Regions from separate parts of the Homo sapiens genome. Here region 1 is linked to region 2. Evidence: promoter capture Hi-C in human tissues and cell types (Jung and others, 2019). All regions are on one chromosome and are shown on one strand. The core of a region is centred on a gene start or on the middle of the fragment in contact, and the rest is flanking DNA. Distances in the headings are between cores, read along the strand shown.

Evidence for each region. Contacts are between HindIII fragments. The study calls those that stand out against the background at their distance.
Region 1: a fragment that was not itself captured here is called in contact with the fragment with the promoter of ZC3HAV1L in region 2 in 1 of the 25 tissues and cell types used here (mesenchymal stem cells).

The regions. Positions count from the first base shown.
Region 1 is chr7:139,277,658-139,283,594 of GRCh38, forward strand. It overlaps UBN2 (ubinuclein 2), which reads left to right. Exons shown (of 18, transcript NM_173569.4): 13 at 1,661-1,703; 14 at 4,348-4,398; 15 at 5,367-5,937. Among named protein-coding and RNA genes, the nearest start is that of UBN2, 49 kb to the left of the region's middle. The HindIII fragment of the contact is 3,186 bases long and covers 3,095-5,937 here.
Region 2 is chr7:139,032,701-139,038,407 of GRCh38, forward strand. ZC3HAV1L (ZC3HAV1 like) reads right to left here and starts at 3,342. Exons shown (of 5, transcript NM_080660.4): 1 at 2,953-3,342; 2 at 1,843-1,978. The coding sequence starts at 3,317. LOC107986852 (a long non-coding RNA gene) reads left to right here and starts at 3,483. Exons shown (of 2, transcript XR_007060557.1): 1 at 3,483-3,671; 2 at 3,953-4,250. RefSeq lists silencers at 2,655-3,174, 3,425-3,634 and an enhancer at 2,749-3,668. The HindIII fragment of the contact is 9,430 bases long and covers 1-5,707 here.

The DNA of each region.
Region 1 (5,937 bases), core at 3,438-5,937, 250 kb after region 2:
TTTACTTTGTTGCAAGAGTTTTTGTTGTCTTTGAAATAAATTTTATGTACATACGTATATGTTTGTGTCAGTGGTATTTTCGGCTTTAATTTCCCTATACAGTAGTCCCCCTTATCCTCAGACAATATACTCCAAGATGCCTGCAGTGGATGCCAAAACTGCAGACAGTACTGAACCCTACATAGACTATTTTTTCCTATACATACATTCCTATAATAGATTTTAGTTTACAAATTAGGCACAGTAAGAGATTAACAACAATAATAAAAGAGAACCGTTTAACAGTATACTATAATAAAAGTTATGTGAATGTGGTTTATCTCTATTTCTGGAATTTTCCATTTAATATTTTCAGACCTCAGTTGACCACAGGCAACTGAAACCGTGGAAATTGAAAACTGTGGATAAGGGGGGCTACTGTAGTTCTAAAGCCATATATACATTACAATTCAGGTACAAATAATGCATTCCTTTAATTCTAAAGGTGTTTACAAAAGATGTCTCCCTCTCTGTCTCTCTCTGGCTTTTTTTTTTTTTTTTTTGAGATGGAGTCTTGCTCTGTCGCCCAGGCTGGAGTTCAGTGGCACGATCTCAACTCGCTGCAACGTCCATCTCCCAGGTTCAGGCAATTCTCCTGCCTCAGCCTCCTGAGTAGCTGGGACTACAGGCGTGCGCCACCACGCCTGGCTAATGTTTGTATTTTTAGTAGAGACAGGGTTTCACCATGTTGGCCAGGCTGGTCTCAAACTCCTGGCCTCACGTGATCCGCCTGCCTCAGCCCAAAGTGCTAGCATTACAGGCATGAGCCACTGCACCCAGCCTCCTTCTCCCTTTTTTTAAATAGCTTCATTATTATCATTAACTTTGTGTTTTGTTTAACTTTGTGTTTTGTTTTGTACCAGAAAGTAGGAATCTATGGGATAAGTGGGCCTAGAGGTCGTTTCCCTAAATGGCCTTCATAAAAAAAAAAAACATAGAAAATTACTGTTGCCTAAATGAAGTTGTAAATTGACAGTTTTAATCAAGATTCTTGTTAATCTAATTGATGACATTTTAGCCAAGTGAAATAGGCAAGGTGAAGTATTTTAGCTTGTCAACAATTTAATTATTCAACAAACATTTGAATACTTTGACTTACTATGGAACTTGTTCTTTTTTTTCATCTTCAAACTTTTTCTTAGTTTTCCAAAAGTTTCAAGATTCCATAGTAATTTTTCTTGCCCTTTTTCTCCCTGTCATTTTGACATTTTTTATTTGAATTTTTACATTACAAAAATTTTTCTTTAAAAGCTCAGGGTTTTTTTTGTTTTGGTTAAGTTAAATCTCATTCACACCTTCTTGGCATGGTTTAATTTGAGCCTGCGGTTCCTTGAAGCTCTTTTTTTGGGGGGGCTATTTTATGGTTTATTTACATTTAATTTTTTAAAAATTGTATTATCTACATTTCATGTTTTACTAGTTGTTTGGCCTTTCAATTAATCTGAATTGGGGAAAATGTTGCTACATACTTCGTATAAACTGAGCACTTAAATACGGTTCCTTCAAAGAGCTTTCCAAATAGCAGAAGGAATTATTTACCACATAATTACAAAGCTATATAACTTTCTAATGAGCAATATAACTGCTACTGAAATAGCCTTTTAAAATCTTTTTATCTTAGGGCAAAGAAAAAGGTGATTCCTGCACCTAAACCCAAAGTAAAGGTAAGTACTGAAACAAAATATTTAATTAGTTATAGTTGGTGAATGTTGAAATACATTCCTAAGATGAAAAAGATGTATGGTATTTAGCAGAGGTCAGTAGGCACTATAAGATAGATGTTTTCAACTTCATAATAATCTTAGTACTTTTGTATTTGGGAGAATAGATTCCTGTGTAGCAGTGGGGAATATGCATACACCAATTGTGAAGCTTAACTTTATTAATACTTGGAAATGCTAGGTAAAATACAACAAATATTCTTTCATAGCATAGGTGAGATTGAAAAATATGTAAGAAAAATTCATAAGACCAGAAACAAAAAAGGAGCTGACAGTGTTAATCTGTCGCTTACACTTTGGTTGCCCTTGGAGGCATTTGGCACTTTCTACCCATCACTTTATGGTTTCTTTTTACGTTTCTTCTCAGAGCATAGCAGTTAGGGTTTTCTTGGGCTTGTACAGGTTAAAACTTGGGATGAAATCTGTGTAAAGCTGGACCTTCAAACAATAACATCTTTAGTAAAAGAAAGGACTAGAAAGAAATCCAGCAACCAGCAGAGACATTAAGTGGCTGTCTTGGACTGGGTTCTGGTTTGGGGGAAGAATGTCCTTGCTGAAAAATTTTCTTGGCTTAGGAGTTTCAGTTACACTACCTCTACAATCTGAGAAAACGCCAAGCTGAAAAAGTAGCTTGGTTACTGGATTAGTAGTGACCCGGGGCCACTGGCAAAAGCAAATTCTCTTTGGTATAACGTGCCCTCTTCAGAGGCCTCAAAGGCATTCCTCCTATAAACCATGGCAGACCTGAGCTTGCAGTCTGAAATACAGAATACATGAGAGAATAAGTTACTATGAGTGAGATTCAGTAGGAACAATAAACAGCAGTTAGATCCCTAAGACGGACAAGTAGTGCACTTATGGAATTTAGTACATAAAATAATTTGACTGAAAAATTTTTAATATTTAGAGAAATAGAAAAGGGAATAAAAAATATCCTATCAAAATAGACAAAGTAGATTTGAAAGAGAATCAAAATATAACCTCTAGAAGTAAAAACTATAATCATTTGAAATTAAAATTTTAATGAAAGCTCATACTCTTTAGGTTTTACACTTTGCTCCATAGCCTTTGTCTCTTTGGTTTTTGTTGTTGTTGTTGTTTTTAATAGATGAGGTTCTTTGCTTATAAGATTGTGGCCAGATGGTCATTATATATTATTCTGTGGCCTTCCTGACTTTTTTGGTGTTAGAGCCTCTTTAAATGCAGGGTAAATAGTCTTCTTTTTCTTTTTCTTGTTTTTCTTTTGGAGACAGAGTCTCACTCTATCACCCAGGCTGGAGTGCAGTGGTGCGATCTCGGCTCACTGCAACCTCTGCCTCACAGGTTCAAGCGATTCTCCTGCCTCAGCCTCCTGAGTAGCTGGGACTACAGGCGCACACCACCATGCCTGGCTAATTTTTATATTTTTAGCAGAGACGGGGTTTCACCATGTTGGTCAGGCTGCTCTCTAACTCCTGACCTCGTGATCCACCCGCCTTGGCCTCCCAAAGTGTTGGGATTACAGGCATGCGCCACTATGCCCAGCCAGTAGTCCTCTTTTTCTTAATAGCCTACTTTGTCTTCTGATCCAAATAATATTGAGCCAATCTTTCATTAAATCTGTTGAATTTAGATGTTGTTTTGACACTTGACTTTATTTTTATTAGAATACTAAAGTCTTAGTACCCTCCATAAAGGATTGGTTACATTTTGATACATCTATTCAAACATATGATTAATAGAATAATAGGATAGGAAATTTATTAAATTCTGATACTGGTTGTGTTAGGATGATATGGGGGAGTCATCAGTTTTTTTGTATGTTTCCTTCTCTATGATTAAATTACTTTTTCATTTTCCCAAAATGGAAAAGCTATACTGTTAATGTGGTTTTTTTCTACTGTAACTCCCCATAGTGTTTCTAGTTATAAAGATAAGATAAGGAAATGCCTACAAAAGAAAATGCAAATAACCCGGAAAAGTAAGGAGGAAAGTAAAAGTATCTATAAATTTCTCCTCAGTCAGAGAATAAAAGCTCTTAGCTTTCTAGGACACATCTTCCTTCCCTTCTTCTGAAACTCTGTTCCTCCCTCCCTCCCTTCCATTCGTCCGTCCATCCATACATCCATCCATCTATCCAATCAGCTATCTATTTATTTAGTCTTTTATATAAATGGGATAACCTGCTTTTTTGACTCAGTTATATATCCTGAACAATTTTCTCTGCCAGTATAAATCTGCACAGTATTCTATTAGAGTGGATTTAATGGTTTTATAAATAAAAATTAATCAAAAAGTTATTTTAAAACAGCAGTTTTATACTAGTAATACTTCCAATATTGGGATACATTTCCTACCCTTTATTGTGTACTTTTTATAATGGAATTTTCACTAATCATGTAAGTGGATGGCATATCAAAACAAATGTGTTTCATCTGCATTACTCATTCTTCTTAGCAGACATTTGTGACCTTAATGCAGTTACACTTGTACTTCCAATTGGTAGTGAGGTTTTTAATCAGGGGTTTTAGAGTAAAAGCTTAGAAAAAATACTAAGGAAGTTAGAGTGTAACAGTATTCTTAACAGCTTGCTTATGTAATACCTTAGGAGGTGATGGTAAAGACCCTTCCTCTCCATTCTTTCCCCACTATGCTTAAGGTAAGTGCTATGGTTGTATCAATCAGTATGTAATATAACACTCTAGGTTTGTTTGGGTTTGTTTAAGAAACTAATTGAAGAGACTTTGATACGACTTTTATGTAATAGGCTTTTGCTTCTCAGTCTTAAAAATAAAATGAGTCAAATACTTTTATCTTTAAAAATAAATAGTTGCTTTTAAATTATTTTGCTCTTTGAATATTATAAACTGTGCTCTAGTTCTTTTTCTTAAATATTAAGAAGGTTGATTATTTGAGAAACAGACTCTAACAACTCTTAGGTATTCAGAGTTGTAATTCTTAATACCCTTGTTTTCTTAGCATAGAGCCCTGCTCACAGCGGACACTTAGTGGATATATATTGAATAAATGACAAATGAGTAATTTACAAATAAATTACAGATTCACCATAATAAATAGCATAATTTATTTATGCTTGGATTGAATCGTCTGCCACTTTGACGTACCAGTTTTTCTATGTACTGGCTGTAGGGTAGCTGCAGGACAGGGCATACAAAGAGGCAGAAATGCATGGAAGCAGAAAGTGAAGGTCAGCCTCCTAGCAAACCATCCCAGACGAGAAGGGGAGAGTCTTAATATAAAGGCAGAATTTATTCTGAGTGCAGGGGAATAAAAAGAGAATAATCTGAACAGATGGATTTGGAGCAGGATTTGAAGATCTAATGCAGGTGGGGGAGGCTCATCAGTAATGTAACTAGTATATGAATGTTCCTTCCACTTGGTGTTAAGTATGACAGCTATGTGCAATATATCAGATACTTTGTCTTGTGAGGACAGCTCAGTCAGGAGCTCTGTCATCTCAAAAATTATTTTTGTTTTGATAGTCTCTGAAGATTTCCAGTAGAAAAACAATTGTAATTGTCATGAGAATCTTTTAGTTATTTAAAATTAACTTTGTAATTTTTTATTCACCATTTCTATTTTTTTCCATATGATGCTTTACATTAGGAGTGTAGTCCAAAAAAGGACCAGAAAACTCCAACATCCCTGGTGGCTTCGGTTAGCGGTCCTCCAACGAGCTCCAGCACAGCTGCCATTGCTGCAGCTAGCTCTAGCTCTGCACCAGCCCAAGAAACCATCTGCCTCGACGACTCACTAGATGAAGACCTTTCTTTCCATTCACCTTCACTGGATCTTGTTTCTGAAGCTTTAGCGGTTATCAACAATGGGAACAAGGGCCCTCCAGTTGGCTCAAGGATAAGCATGCCAACCACAAAGCCTCGTCCAGGACTGAGAGAAGAAAAATTAGCAAGTATCATGAGTAAGCTGCCACTAGCTACTCCCAAAAAACTAGATTCTACTCAGACTACACATTCTTCAAGTCTTATTGCTGGTCACACAGGGCCAGTACCAAAGAAACCCCAGGATTTAGCTCATACTGGCATCTCTTCAGGCCTTATTGCTGGTTCTTCCATTCAGAACCCTAAAGTTTCTTTAGAACCTTTGCCAGCCAGGCTACTTCAACAAGGACTTCAGAGGTCAAGCCAGATTCACACTTCTTCCTCTTCACAGACCCATG
Region 2 (5,707 bases), core at 2,092-4,591:
AATAACATACTGTATACCTGAAAATTGCTGTCCTTACCACACCCAAAAAATAATAGCCATGTAAAGTAATGGTATGCTAATTAGCTTAATCATTGCAATCAATTCACAATGTAAATATATTAAAACACCACATTGTACACTGTAAATATAAAATTTTTATTTGTCAACTACACTTCAATAAAGACAAAAATTTGATAGAATTCAACTATGAAACTATATAAGCCTGGCCAGGCGCAGTGGCTCACGCCTGTAATCCCAGCACTTTAGGAGGCTGAGGCAGAGGGATCACTTGAGGTCAGGCATATAAGACCAGCCCGGCCAACATGGTGAAACGCTATCTCTACCAAAAAGTACAAAAATTAGCTGGGCATGGTGGCACGTGCCTGTAGTCCCAACTATTCAGGAGACTGAGGTGGGAGAATCACTTGAACTCAGGAGGCAGAGGCTACAGTGAGCCGAGGTACTTCCAGCCTGTGTGAGAGAGTAAGACCCTGTCTCAAAAAAAAAAAAACTATATAAGTCTGATGTTTTCTTGTGCAAGCCTTCTAACTAATGCTTTGAGGTTTGTTTAATGCTTTTATTTTAAAAATTTTTATGACACTATTTTGGCTTTCCGTTTCTTCTTGAATCCATTTTGACAAGCTGTATTTTTCTAGAAATTTGTCCATCAATGCACCAGCATGAAACTTTACCTGTCTATTGTCTTTTTTATTGAGAGAGTGGTAAAAGCAATCATCAGGCATTTCATACAAGAGATGTGAGGCACCATTCTTGCCTCATGCACTGTGTTTTTCCACAGTCCCTGCTGCCCACATGATCACGTTTTGTGCCACATGTCACCTACTTCCAGTCCCAGGTGATGGGGACAAGTGGAGGCACAGGGGAGGCTCCTGTTGTAAGTGCAGCCAACCCATCAGCTGCTCACAAAACACTGAAGTAGTCTAATATGACAAGGTGAGGCTGGGCCCAAGATACATCCTAAAAAAGGGCATACCAAAAAAACATTCGATAGATTTGACAAAATAAAAACACTAAACTTCTATAAATCAAAAAGTACTATAAAATTAAAAGGCAAATAGCAGCGGCACCACGCCTTCTCTCTGAGACAGGAAGGACTGGACCCAGCCTCATAGGTGCAGCCACCCTCCTCTCCCTTCCTGCCAATAACCTGCTTCAGCTACTGCTTGCATCTACTTTGGGCAACATGGTTGGTTGGAATGCCTCTGGCTCACAACCGTGACATACCAGACTTGGCTTCAGTGCTCGAAGAAATGAAACAGGTTATGCATGTCAGGAAGAAACCTGCTTGTTCCTGAGATCAACTCCAGGACTGCCTTCTGGGTACAGATTCTGCTGCCTTGAGAGCAGCCTCTGCCACCTGCACCAAAGGCTCCAGCTCCTACCTCTAGTCTTGTGGCTATCTTCCTTTCTAGACGCTGAAATGCATTAGAGTTAAAATCAGGCCACAATTATGAACTATCCTCTGTTTTCTCAACATCTCCCCTTCTTCCCATCCCTCTTCTGGCCAAGTGGAGGTGTCTATGATAGCATCACTGTGCTAGATTAGAAAATCTTGCTTTTAATTGGTGGTCTTAATTGATGTTCCAATTTTCTCTTGGGATTTGTACTATTTTGTTTTTAAAACTTCTTTGTGTATGGCTAAACTGAAACAAACGTACTATTTCGCCATGATAGCAATTATAAAGGGTACCTTTAAAGCATTTGAAACTGAATCATGTTGCTTCGAAGGCAATTAAAATTAATATGTAAAGCCAAAAGAAAAATAAATGGGGAAAGTACTTGTAGCAAATGTGACATGAGGGTGACTCCTTGGTGACTCACCTCTGGTAAAAGACAGGGGTCATTCTGCAAAAGCAGGATCCGAAGCTGGTTTTCATTGAGACCAAAAAGTCCATGGCTTTTCAGGACCTGCATGTTGACAGGTGTGTGGATATCATGGGAAAGGGTACAGGTAGACCTAAAAGAACAAAGCCCTCGGTCAGATGCCCAGGTGAAGAAGGACCAGTCTGTCCAATTCCTTGCCTTGAGCAGCTTTCAATGTATTTAATACATGTGAAGTTGAGTAATTTTCATGAAACCGGGGATAGTATGGCCTAATAAGCACTGATGGAAAATAAGAAAATTGGGTTGAAGGAACTCCTCTCCCAGGGTCATTTGAATTTTCAGTAGGGATGCTTTGAAGCCAAGGGTCGCCCACCTCGCCTGAGGATGCACATCTGTTCCGTAGGCGACTGCACCTGGCCTTCTCCCCGGCAACAGCTGCCACAGTCCACCAACGTTAAAAAGAAAGCGCCCCTATCCCCAGCACCGCTTTGGCGGGGTGTGTGGCTAGAGACAACCAAGGAAAATTCGGGGCTGTGAAGCACAGCCTGGGGTCAGGAGGCAGCCCCGAACCCCAGCTCTGGCAGTCAGGAACCACAGGGCCTCACCCAAGCCATCCAGCCCTGTTTCCTGGGGTGAGACTGGCTCAGCGCTGTTAAACCTAGAGGGCGCAGACCCGCTTCTGCACAAGTGTGTGGATATGGGGGAGCAGCGATTTCCGGCTAAAGGGTCCAGGGATCTCATGGGATCCTCAGACGCCCCACGCCCCCCACCTCCCGCCAAATATCACCAGAATAAGTGAGCTCCGAAGTCCCAGTCCGGATTTAACCCGGCCGCGTCGCGCAGGATCCGGGGGGGCGGGCGGGGGCAGCAACTTTTCTGGCGTGGGCGGTTGAGACGTCTCCATGGAGAGGACCTTCGCGCCTTTCCGCCCAGCTGCTGGAAGCGCGGGGGAGGACGCCCAGGAAAGGCCTGCGGGAGGGGGTCGTCCAGCCCCGCGTCCCCGGCCCGGGGCAGGACGAAGCCCCCCTTCCCGTCGCTCCCGCTTCCAGCAGGACGGCCAGGCCCGCGGCCAGCGCCCACAGTCCCCGCCCGCCGCCGCCTTCTCACCAGCAGTCCCGGTTGGGGCACTTGCCCAGCATGTGCCGGCGGCAGAAGTGCAGCTGGTCGCAGGCCTGGCACTCGCCGCGCTGGTAGCGGGCGCAGAGGCGCACAGAGGACACGGCCACCACCCTCCAGGCGGAGGTGCCGCCACCGCCCACCGCGCCGGCCGCCGCCTCGGCCTCCGCGTCCCCGAGGCCCTCCTGCGTCTCCACCTCCTGCAGCAGGAAACGCTCGGGCCCGGCGCGCTGCAGCACGTCCCGGAGCCTGGCCTCCGACAGCTCCACGTGGCCGCGCAGGTCCTTCAGGAACATGCGGCCGCCGTGGGCGCACAGCACCTTGGTGAGGAAGGAGCACACTGTGGGCTCCGCCATGGTCGCTGGCGCGGGCCCTGTGCGCGCGGCGCAGCGAGCCGGGGCGGGCAGGCTCCTCCCAGTCACGTCCACGATTTCCAGCGAACAGCCCGGGGATGGGCCTGGGCCTGGCGAGGGGTGGGCCTGCGGGAGGCCGGGCGAGGGGCGGCCCCGGCGCGTGGAAGCAGGGTACGGCGCCTGCGGATCCCCTGGACGTGGACTCAGGCGGGGACAGCGTTGATGGAGCGTCTGCTCCGCCCAGGCACCGTTCAGGGCGAAGCCTGGCCTTGAGGGGCTTGTATAGTGGGAGTCACAAAGGACTCGCCAACAAGACAACTGGTAGTGCTAGGGAGGCCTGCGGAGAAGGAGAAATAGGTAAAAGGTGGTAGGAGGTGAGTGGCCGGGCTGCTTCGCGGGAGGTGGCCACTAGCCACATGTGGCTGCTGAGCACTTCTGGGATTTTTTGTTGTTGTTGTATTTTTATTTTTGGAGACAAGGCCTCACGTTATCGCCCAGGCTGGAGTGCAGTGGCGCTATCGTAGTTCGCTGCAGCCTGGAACTCCTGGGCTCAAGCGATCCTCCCACCTCAGCCTCCTGAGTAGCTGAGACCGAAGGTTCGCATCACTAATTTTTTTGGTTTTTGTTTTGCTTTGTAGAAACGGGGTCTCCTCATGTTGCCCAGGCTGGTCTCGAACTCCTCAAGCGATCCACCTGCCTCAGCCTCCCAGAGCACTGGAATTACAGGCGTGAGCCACCCCGCGGGGCCTGCTGAGCTTTATTGGAAAGTGGCTAGTCCGAATTGAGATGTGATATAAGTGTGAAATACACACACTAGATTTTGAGGACTGAGAATGAGAAAAAGAATGTAAAATATCTCACTAACTTTATATGAATCACATGTTAAACATAATATTTTGGATATATTTGGATAAATAAAATGTTATGACAACTTCATGTGTTGCTTCTACTTTCCTAATGTAGCTATGAGGAAATTTTACATTGCAAATGTGGATTACCTTATTTTTGTTGAGCAGCACCAGTCTAGACCTGCCTTAAGCATCCATGCTTTTTGTCCAACACCTTGCTTGTTTCATGAACGTTTGTTGAGCCAACTACTAACGCAGTGACAGTACAAAGATGAATCAGACCATCAGAGAACTCAGCCAGCCTAGCTGCTATTTTGCAAGGTGCTCGTGAGGATTAAATGCATTAATGTCATGTAATGTAAAGAAGCTAGAGAGGAAGACAACTGGCCAGATGCCAGAAGACCTTCTCTGCCATGCTGTGAAATTTGGACTTATATCCCGAGAACTTTGGGAAGTCACTAAAGGATTTTCATCTGGGAAGTGTGGATGTCTCCTGAGTGCCACTCAAGGTGTGTCATTCAGCTCTGAGCTTTAATGTCTTCTCTTCAGCAAAACCTTTCCTGACCTCTCAAATCTAAAGTAGCTCCCCAGTCTGCATGGAACTTACCACTGATATTTTTCTTCTTTATTGTGTATTTATATATTTAGCTATAGAATTCAGGCTCATGAAAGCAGGAACCTTGTTTTGTTCATTGCTGTATCCCTACCACCTAAAATAGTACCTGGCCATATTGTAGGATAGGTGTTTTAGAAAGACCCCTGGCAGCAATGAGAAGAATGGATTTCTAGAAAAGCAAGACGAGGTGGGGAATAACAGAAAATAAACAGGATTTGAGGGACTATAACCCCAGTGTTATTTATGTTGAGAGTTTGCAGTGGACAACCCAAGGTAAGACGCTCAACAGGCAGGTGTATTCTGTATACAGGTCTAGACCTTGAGGGACATGAGAAGGGAAGGGATGTAGATTTGCGTGACATCAGAGCATTAGGTAACTGAGAGTTGATAAGATCACCTGGCAAAAATGAAGAGTGTGAAAAGGTGGGGGACGGGGGGAAAGAAGCTTGGCGAATACCCACATTAAATAAGCAAGTGGGGGAAGAGAAAAATAGGCAGTAGCCTACGTCCCCTTGGCACTCAGCATTTGTTCCTGAACTCTCTGCCTAAGCTTTTTCCAACAGAAGGAGGAAGCAGCCAGCAGGAAAGGCAGGCTGGAATTACCAAGGAGCCAACACCTCCAGGAAGAGCCTTCATCCAGGGATGTTGGGGAATTGGTGGTTTGAGGATGCACTCTCAACCCTAAAATTGGCATGAGGATTATTTTAAACTAAAGACATGTAAGATTCAATAGAGGCAAAAAGAAGCCTTCTTGAAGCTTCCTTTATTTCAGTAAAAGCAGAATCTTCTGGGAGTGAGGTTGCCATTCATCCCCTCTCCAGGGGTTTATGGACATGAAATAGAAAACCACGTGCACCTGCATAAACAACTTCCCTATGAACACAAACTTCCTTATCTCCTGTTTGTTCCCTAGAAACCCCTTTGTTCTT